2 separate regions of the Homo sapiens genome follow, and region 1 is linked to region 2. Evidence: promoter capture Hi-C in human tissues and cell types (Jung and others, 2019). All regions are on one chromosome and are shown on one strand. The core of a region is centred on a gene start or on the middle of the fragment in contact, and the rest is flanking DNA. Distances in the headings are between cores, read along the strand shown.

Region 1 (4,726 bases), core at 811-3,310, 110 kb after region 2:
CCAGTCATGAGTGGCCTAGAGGGGCCAAGAGGTAGGATGAGGGCTGGTCATGTATCACAGAGAAGACCTAAAGGAAGGAAAGTGGTGGGCCCTGTTAAAAAGCATGGAATGGTATTCCAGAGGGCATTACTGAGTCTGCACAGGTCTGGAGCATGCATGGCTCACACCTGACCAAGGATATTCAAGTCGCTCCATGTGACCAGACTGTGGACCACAGAGGTCTAAGGGGGAGAGGGCAGATGAGCCAGATAGAATGACAGGGAGGAGAGTATGAGGGGCTCTGGAAACCGAGGGGTTTGGAAGTTTTCCTGAGGGCCTAGAGGGTCATGGAAGGTTCTAGAGCACTGGTTCTCAAGGTGTGGTCTCCAGACCACTAGTATCAGCATCACCTAGGAACTTGCCAGAAATACAAATTATCAGGCCCCACTCCAGATCTACTGAATGAAAAATTCTGGAAGTAGCCAGGTAGTTACTCAGGAGGCTGAGATGGGAGGCTCACATGAGGCCTGAAATTCAAGGCTAACCTGAGATAGGGTGTTGCTCTTTTGCCCAGGCTGAAATGCAGTGGTGTGATCACAGCTCACTGCATTTCCGTGTATTTCAGAGCTCACTGCAGCCTCAAACTCCTGGGCTCAAGTGGTCTTCCTGCCTCAACCTCCCAGGTAGCTGGGGTCACAGGGATGGACCACCACACTGGGCTAATTTAAAAAAATTGTTAGCAACAGGGTCTTACCATATTGCCCAGGCTGGCCTCAAGCGATCCTCCTACCTCAGCCTCCCAAAGTACTGGGATTACAGGTGTGCAGCACCACATCTGGCTTAATTTTTTTTTTTTTTTTTGAGACAGGGTCTCATTCTGTCGCCCAGGCTGGAGTGCAGTGGAGGGATCTCGGCTCACTGCAACCTCCGCCTCCTGGGTTCAAGCAACTCCTGCCTCAGCCTCCCGAGTAGCTGGGATTACAGGTGCCCGCCGCCATGCCCGGCTAATTGTTGTATTTTTTGGTAGAGACAAGGTTTTATCATGTTGGCCAGGCTGGTATCCAACTTCAGACCTCAAGTGATCCGCCTGCCTCAGCTTTCCAAAGTGCTGGGATTATAGGCATGAGCCACTATGCCCAGCCAGAGACTCCATCTTTAAAACAAAAACAAAAACTCAGGGTGTGGTACCCACCAACCTGGCTTACCCAGCCTTTTAGGTGAGTCTAATGCATGCTCAAATTTGAAAACCACTGGGTTAAACGTCTGGTCTGGAGTTCATCAAAAAGTCATGGCCTGAATCCTTACCTGTAAGGCATCAGAATGCAAATGAAAATTAACTTAATGAATATTTTACTTGAGCCGGGCACACTTCCCACAACAGTATAGGATGGCTGTCCTTGTCCTGTTTTGTAGAGGACGGTGCTAAGCAGCCTATTCATTCTCACAAGGTCTCCAGGAAACCACACTTTTTTAAGGAGTAGAATTTTGGGGTAGGGCCGGGCGCAGTGGCTCACGCCTGTAATCCCAGCACTTTGGGAGGCCGAGGCGGGTGGTTCGCCTGAGGTCAGGAGTCGAGACCAGCCTGGCCAACATGATGAAACCCCGTTTCTACTAAAAATACAAAAAATAAATTAGCCAGGCGTGGTGGCGGGAGCCTATAATCCCAGCTACTCGGGAGGCTGAGGCAGGAGAATCGCTTGAATCCGGGGCAGGGGCGCGGAGGTTTCAGTGAGCCGAAATCGCGCCACTTCACACTCCAGCCTGGGAGAAAGAGCGAAACTCCGTCTCAAAAAAATATATATATATATATATTTGGGTAGGAAGCACAAGTAGGGACCGTGCTTGCTGCCAGAACAACCAATAGAAACTCCTTGAAGGCCTTCCTGGCACAAACGTAGTCTCCAGCACCCTCTGCCGACCAGGCCCCGCGCCCTCAGTGCTGAGACAGCCTCCAGCCCTCGGTGCCTTAGGGGTTGCGCGTCACCTTGGAGACCGCGTGAGAGGAGGGCGTGCCTCTGCAAAGGCGGAAGTCGGCTGTGGAAGTGTGGGCGGCCATTTTGAGACCGGGCAAGAGGGGCGGGACTGGTGCGGCCGAGTGACAGTTGACCGGTTTTAACCAAGTGACTGGTACCACGGGGCCGGGGAAAAAGCTGTGCCATCCAGGGGCGGGGGGATGCCGGGGACGGGGAGGAACTAGGAAGGGGAGGGGAAGGGGAAGGCGAGAAGGGGAGAGGCAGGGGAAAGAGGGGAAGAGTCGTGGGAGCTGGGAGAGGAGGGAAAGAGGGGAAGAGTCGTGGGAGCTGGCAGAGGAGGGAAAGGGGGAGCCGAACGTGAAGGGCGAAGGGCGGGGCGGGGCAGGAGAGTCGGGGTATAGAGCAGGCAGGTGTTAATGGCATGGGAAGGAAGAGTAAGAAGTGGGGCAAGAAGGTGTCGCGGTACGAGGGGAAGGTGAGACTCAAGAAGGTGCCGGCTAAGAAGCTGGTGCCGGCGTGGAAGGAGAAGGTGTGGGGCGAGGAAACAACGAAGGGCGAGGAAAGATCCCGAGGCGAAGAGACAGTTTTCATCGAGAAGGGGCAGGGCGAGGAGGAGGGGCGTTACCAGAGGGCGGGACGGGGCGACGGGCCCGCGCGGGAAGAACCAATCGCCGAGAACCCGGGGAAGGAACGGGTCCATAAAGACCAAGTGGAGGAGTAGGGGCGCGGTCAGGAGCGGAAGCAGAGTGAGGAGCAAGCCCCGGGCGAGAAACGGGGGCCCGGCCGGGAGCAAGAGCAGGGGCGGGGCCGGGAGCAAGAGCAGGGGCGGGGCCCGGAGACGGGCGAGACCAGGTACAGTACCCAGCCCCTGGGCAGACCCCGAGCGAGGAGAAAGCGGCGATACCAAGAGAAGTGCGAGGGTGGGGCAAGAGGTTGGGGCACAGCCGGGTGGAAGTACACGGGTGCGATCGCAGGCAGAAGCAGTACGGGGGAACTTAAGAGGGGGACTGTCAAAGCGAGAAATAGAAACCAAGACCAGGTGAAGAGCAAGAGTGGAATACAGGGAGGGGGCGGAATAAGGAGCAAGGTGAGGATAAAGTTAAAGGAAGAGACGTGGAGGCGGCGGGGCGGAACGAGGCGGAGGAGCAGGGGTGTGGCCAGAAACATTAGTAGGGCTGGGGCCCGGAGCAATAGCAGAGGTGCGATACCCACGAGGGTCGGGGGCAGGGCCAGGAGCAAGAGCAGGGGCGGGACCAGGAGCAAGTGCAGAGGCGGAGCCAGGAACAAGAGCAGAGGCGGGGCTAAAAGTCCGTGCGGGGGCAGGGCCAGGAGCAAGAGCAGGGGCGGGACCAAGAGCAAGTGCAGGGGCGGGGCCAGGAGCAAGAGCCGGGGCGTGGCCAGGAGCAAGTGCTGTGAGAGGCGCAGAAGCGAGGTGGAATCTTAAAAGTGGGCTCCAGAGAGCTGTCCGGCGCGTGGGTGTTGACTCCTGCGTTCTCCAGGTTCTAGCCACGTTATGTGCGGCCCAGCCATGTTCCCTGCCGGTCCTCCGTGGCCCAGAGTCCGAGTCGTGCAGGTGCTGTGGGCCCTGCTGGCAGTGCTCCTGGCGTCGTGGAGGCTGTGGGCGATCAAGGATTTCCAGGAATGCACCTGGCAGGTTGTCCTGAACGAGTTTAAGAGGGTAGGCGAGAGTGGTGTGAGCGACAGCTTCTTTGAGCAAGAGCCCGTGGACACAGTGAGCAGCTTGTTTCACATGCTGGTGGACTCACCCATCGACCCGAGCGAGGTGAGGGGACCAGGGTCAAGTGAACCAGAGGGATTTTGAACCCGCACTCCACTCATTTCTGGACGTGTGGCCTAACCTCTCTTTGCAGAAATACCTGGGCTTCCCTTACTACCTGAAGATCAACTACTCCTGCGAGGAAAAGGTGAGTGGGTGCAGCACGGATAGGCTCATTCTATGAGCCTTGGTTTTCCCACCTCTAACATTTTTATTTATTTATTTATTTTATTTTTTTGAGACGGAGTCTTGCGCTGTTGCCCAGACTGGAGTGCAGTGGCGCGATCTCGGCTCACTGCAACCTCCGCCTCCCGTGTTCAAGCGATGCTCCTGCCTCGGCCTCCCAAGTAGCTGGAACTACAGGCATGTGACACCACGCCCGGCTAATTTTTGTATTTGGTAGAGACAGGGTTTCACCACGTTGCCCAGGCTGGTCTCAAACTCCTGACCTCATGTGATCCACCTGCCTCAGACTCCCAAAGTGCTGGGATTACAGGTGTGAGCCACCGTGCCTGGCCCCCATCTCAATATGTGGTAGCACCATCCAACCCTGGTGGCTTTAAGGATTCAAGAAGGCTGTCTGTGTACAGTTCCCAGTAACCCACCAAGCACCTAGTAGGTGCTCAAGTAAGCTTTTTTGTTCCATGTTTTTTTTGTTTTGTTTTGTTTTTGAGACGGAGTCTCGCTCCGCCCAGGCTGGATTGCAGTGGCGCGATCTCGGCTCACTGCAAGCTCCGCCTCCTGGGTTCACACCATTCTCCTGCCTCAGCCTCCCAAGTAGCTGGGACTACAGGCGCCTGCCACCACGCCCGGCTAATTTTTTGTATTTTTAGTAGAGATGGGGTTTCACCGGGTTAGCCAGGATGGTCTCGATCTCCTGACCTCGTGATCCGCCCGCCTCGGCCTCCTAGAGTGCTGGGATTACAGGCGTGAGCCACCTCACCCGGCCTTGTTCCAGGTTTTTAAAGCTATGAGTAGGAGTTTACCATATATATAA
Region 2 (5,245 bases), core at 1-2,500:
TATCCCTACCTGAACACATGCAGACACACAACACAAATCACACACAGTCACACGGGATTCACACACAAAGAGAGACAAATCCCAATACTCACAAAGGAGAAACAGACAAACCTCACACACGTGCACACATAAATATCTACTGAAAAAGACAAATATCCCAAGTTCCATAGTGTGGAGACAAATCACACAAATAACCATGCACAAAGACACATCACATATCCACAGACACACACCAGAAACACATCACCCACACAAAGACACACAACATGGAAACATCACACCACACACACATACACCCCCTCATGCATCCAAAGACACAAGCATGTCAAAAGACAGGAACTACAGAAACCACTTGCGCCCCTAGGCACTTACCCATGTATCCAAAGACACAACACAAACCACACACACAATATCCAGACACACAACACAAAGAAATCACACAGATTCACACAGGTACACACACACATTTACAAAGATGCACGATGCGCAACCAGTATCTAAAATATCACACATCCACACAGACACACACACATATAAAACACAGAAACAGCCAAATCCACCCATAGTCACACAAAAATTTACACACAAATACACGCAGCCCTACATACCCAAAAACACAGAACACAAGACAAATGACATATAGTTCCAAAGGACACGGACACACACTGGGAGACCCAAATATCCAAAGATATCTAGTGCAGAATAAAAGGAAACAGACACATGTCCACACACCTATCCCCCAAAAATTCTTAAAAAAACCAGAACACAAATAAGTGATACACACACACACTCCACATCCCAAGACAAAGGTAGTGTGGACTTCACTCCAGTTGCCAAGGCCCCCGCACCCCCGGGTCATTTCAGTCTCTCCCAGACCCGAGGGTTGCAGGGAAGGGATGATGTCTCCCTTCCCCAAAAAGAATCTGGAGGCCCCCCACGCCCTCCACCCCGCCAGGGAGCGGTGCATCCGACACCATTCTTGTCAGAGACCCACAGTCACACACTCTCGCACCCCCGCGCAGCCCCGCACTCGGTGACAGCCCCCCAGACACCCCTTCGGCCCCACCCCCGGTCGCCACACACACACAGGCCCGCGTAGACCCGCCCGCGCTTCCTCTCCGCCTCCCGCCGGCCCGCACCACCTCAGGGGGCCAGGGATGACAGTGGCCATCTTGCTCCCCGGGTCCTGCCCCCAGCAGGTCCCCGCCGGGTCGGTCCTCCCAGCGGTCGGGCGGGCGCTGAGGCCGCCCATCCATTCATTCCCGGGGGGCGGGAGCACGAGGGCCACGGCCAATCGCGGCGACGGGGCGGGCCCGCCCGGGCCATGCTGGGAGTGGTAGTCCCAGGCCAGGGGGCCCCCGGGACCCCGCGGGGACGGGACGGCGCGGAGGAGGGGCCCGGGGCACGCACCGTCACTCACCCGCCCTCACTCGTCCACATATCCTGCTCTCGCGTGCACACAACCACATGCACACCTGGACTCGCACACGCCCACGCATGGCAGTTTACACACACATTCACGCGGATACTCACAGCCTCCCACACACTCCTACTCACACACCTTCGCACGGACTCACACAGCCACACGCACACACACTGCAATACTAAGAGACGCAGAGACACCTCCCAGGTGCCCACACAGACTTCTCACCAACATGCTTCCAGCAGACACCCCCTCACCGCCCCCCACCCAAGTCCCTCCTGGCTCCAGAGACCCCACCCGGGGCTGTCTCTCCCAGCAGCCACGCTCACGGTCACCCCGCCCTGCTCAACGCCTTCTGCAGGCCTGACAGCAGCAGTGCAGGTTAGAAACAGTAGTCACACCTCCAGGGTTCAAATCCTAGCTCTGCCACTTGGTGGCCATGTGACCTTGGCAAATGACTTAACCTTTCTGGGCCTCAGTTTCCTCATCTGTAAAAAGAGGATGATGCCTCACTGGAGTGTTGTGAGGATTAAATGAGTAAATATAGGTAAAGCATTTTAAGAGGTGACTGGCAGGCCAGGCGCAGTGGCTCACACCTGTAATCCCGGCACTTTGGGAGGCCCAGGCAGGTGGATCACCTGAGGATGGGAGTTCGAGACCAGCCTGGCCAACATGGTAGTAGTCTCTACTAAAAATACAAAATTAGCCGGGCATGGTGGCGCATGCTTATACTCCCCCACTCAGGAGGCTGAGGCAGGAGAATCACTTGAACTCAGGAGGTGGAGGTTGCAGTGAGCTGAGATCGTGCCATTGCACTCCAGCCTGGGCAACAAGAGTGAGACTCCCTCTCAAAAATAAATAAATAAATAATAAGAAAGAAAGAATAATGCGGCCAGGTGCGATGGCTCCAGTCTGCAATCCCAGTACTTCGGGAGGCCTAGATGAGAGCACTGCTTGAGCCCAGGAGTTTGAGACCAACCTGGGCAACATATCCAGACCCCTGTGTCTACAAAAAAAAATTAAAATTAGCTGGGCATGATGGCGCAGCAGTGTAGTCCCAGCTACTTGCAAGGCTAAAGTGGGAGGATAGCTTGAACCTGGGAGGCTGAGGCTGCAGTGAGCTGTGGTCTCACCACTGCACTCCAGCCTGGGTGGCAGAGCGAGACTCTGTCTCTAAAAGCAAACAAACAAACAAACAAACAAACAAAAAACTAAGTAAGCAGGGCGCCGTGACTCATGCCTGTAATCCCAGCAATCTGGGAGGCTGAGATGAGAGGACCGCTTGAGCTCAGGAGAACAGCCTGGGCAACATAGCGAGACCTGGTCTCTACTAAAAAAAAAATAAATAGCTGGGCATGGTGGCACATGCCTATGGTCCCAGCTACTCAGGAGGCTGAGTCAGGAGGATTGGTTGAACCCAGGAGATCGAAGCTGCAGTGAGCTATGATCACACCACTACACTCCAGCCTGGACAACTGAGCAAGACCCTGTCTCCAAAAAAAAAAAAAAAAATAGATGCTCAGTAGATATTTGTTGAATGAGTAAATGCACCCATCATGTGCTGGGCACAGTTCACCCCGGGATGCTTTTATTATCTGCATTTTCCAGGTGAGGAATCTGAGGCACAGGAAGGTAACCTCACATGCCCGCATGCCCTGGCGGCTCTTTGAAGGTAAGACTGAAGGAAGGAGGCAGGCACCCCTGACGGCCCTCCCCAAGTAGTCCTGACCTCCTTCTCTCTCCCACTGTCACCCACACTGACTCCACCCGAAGAGATCCCCAGGGAGTGAGCAGACCCACTGAGTCACAAACTGACCCAGTCTCTCTGCAACACCACCACCCCGTCCCCCCTCCCGTCTCACCCCTCCTCCCCCTTTCCCCTTCCCACCCCTTCTCCCCCTTTCCCCTTCCCCTCTTCCACCCGGACCCCTGTAGAGCCAGCATTCAAATTTGGGCGGCTGCTGTAATTAACACGCCCACAAACGCCCTCATCCACCAGGGGGCGCCCCAGCCGACAGAAGTGGCCCGCTAGCCTTCACCATTTTTGTCACTTGAAATCCCCCCAAGAGAGAGATCCAGTCAAGGCCTCCTACACTCACGGTCACTTCTACACACACACACACACACACACACACACACACACACTCCTCTAGTCTTAGACCCTTTCCACAAACTCGCCCATCTAAGCCAGGTAAGGTCTTGGCCGGCCCCTCTCCTGGAACAGGAGGTAGGTCTCTGATTCACATATGGCCTGGAGTGGTGACAAGGGGATTAAGTGAGGGGCACTGACACCCCTACGATCACTCTGGCCTCCAGGGCCCTATAGTGGCCACCTCACACCTTACCCACGGTGAGCTGTGACCCCACCTTCCTCTCTCACCTCCCATTAGCTCACAGGTCCCGTAACACACCCTCTTACACTTGATTCCCACACCGCTAGCCTCAGACACGCAGACTCACTCCTGCCCCACCCCAAACTCTCATGTCGATTTGATTAAGAGAAGCCCGAGTGTAGACACTGAGTGCAGACCTTCCTAACAGTCCTCCTCTACCAGCAGAATTTCTATTTTTCTTTCTTTTCTTTTCTTCTTTTATTTCTCTTCCTTCCTTCCTTCCTTCCTTCCTTCCTTCCTTCCTTCCTTTCTTTCTTTCTTTCTTTTCTTCTCTTTCTTTCCTCTTTCTCTTTTTCTCTTTTTTTTTTTTGGACAGCGTCTCACTCGATGGCCCAGGCTGGAGTGCCATGGCATGAACACAGCTCGCTGCAGCCTCCACCTCCCAGGCTCAAGCGATCCTCCCACCTCAAACCCCCAAGTAGCTGGGACTACAGGCCTGTGCCACCGCACCCGGCTAATTTTTGTATTTTTGTAAAAACAGGGTGTCCCTGTGTTGGCCAGGCTAGTCTCAAACTCCTAAGCTCAAGTGATCTGCCCACCCTGCCCTCCCAAAGTGCTGAGATTACAGGCATAAGCCACCATGCCCGGCCCACCAGCAGGATATCTACCCACAGACGCAGGCTGACACTTGCAGCGGGCTCTCCTTTCTTTCCTTCTGCCCTAACCACCTGCACACACCACTCCCACATACTCTCCTACACACTTGAACTCCCAGTCCTCTCCCTGGCCCAAACAATCCTCCTGCCCCATCCCCCAATGCCCTGTGTGGGAGCTGGCCCACAGTAGAAATCAATTTCATAAATCAATATTGATACTACTAATAATAATCACTACATTTGGTCAGTGTCAGTCTCTGTGCTAACTGCTTTACAAAGATGGCCTTAGCCCCACGACAGTCCCATCGGGTGGTAAGGGCTGTTAGAAGCCCCCATACACAGATGGCAAAACTGAGGCTCACGGCAGGGAACATTCGTGGCTCAAGCTGGTTTTGGAACTCAGGCAGTCGGAACTTCCGAGGGCGGCACCCTGCAGCTCCTTCTCCCCAGGGGATTTGACTCACATTCTTTCAGGAGCCAGGGAGTCCCCACCTTCACCCCCACAGAGACCTTTTGGAAGGGAAGGGCACAGAGGGGTAGGGCCCTCCCAGTCCAGGCTTACTGTAGCTGGGCCCCTGCTCACGGCTGTAGCACACCTCCTCCCAGGGGTCTGGGCCAGGGTCAGGGTGAGGGGCCCCATCGCCTGTAGATCCACCAACCTGCACAAGAGCCCCGTTCCCAGCCATTTTGCGGATGTCCCCTCACAGGAGAGACAGCTGTCTGTGTGTGCCACTTAGGGTGAGAGGGCAGCAGAGGGGTGTCACCATCATACACCACCTCACACGGACCCGAGCCCCACACACCCGCTCCCGGCACCCTGCTCACGGCGAAGC

Evidence for each region. Contacts are between HindIII fragments. The study calls those that stand out against the background at their distance.
Region 1: the fragment with the promoter of CATSPERG here is called in contact with the fragment with the promoter of DPF1 in region 2 in 1 of the 25 tissues and cell types used here (liver).

The regions. Positions count from the first base shown.
Region 1 is chr19:38,333,770-38,338,495 of GRCh38, forward strand. CATSPERG (catsper channel auxiliary subunit gamma) reads left to right here and starts at 2,061. Exons shown (of 29, transcript NM_021185.5): 1 at 2,061-2,106; 2 at 3,452-3,735; 3 at 3,824-3,877. The coding sequence starts at 3,466. RefSeq lists enhancers at 1,800-2,094, 1,899-2,108 and silencers at 2,229-2,308, 2,679-2,848. The HindIII fragment of the contact is 10,217 bases long and covers 1-4,726 here.
Region 2 is chr19:38,222,972-38,228,216 of GRCh38, forward strand. DPF1 (double PHD fingers 1) reads right to left here and starts at 1,251. Exons shown (of 12, transcript NM_001135155.3): 1 at 1,143-1,251. The coding sequence starts at 1,171. RefSeq lists a silencer at 1,016-1,585 and an enhancer at 4,508-5,245. The HindIII fragment of the contact is 15,736 bases long and covers 1-5,245 here.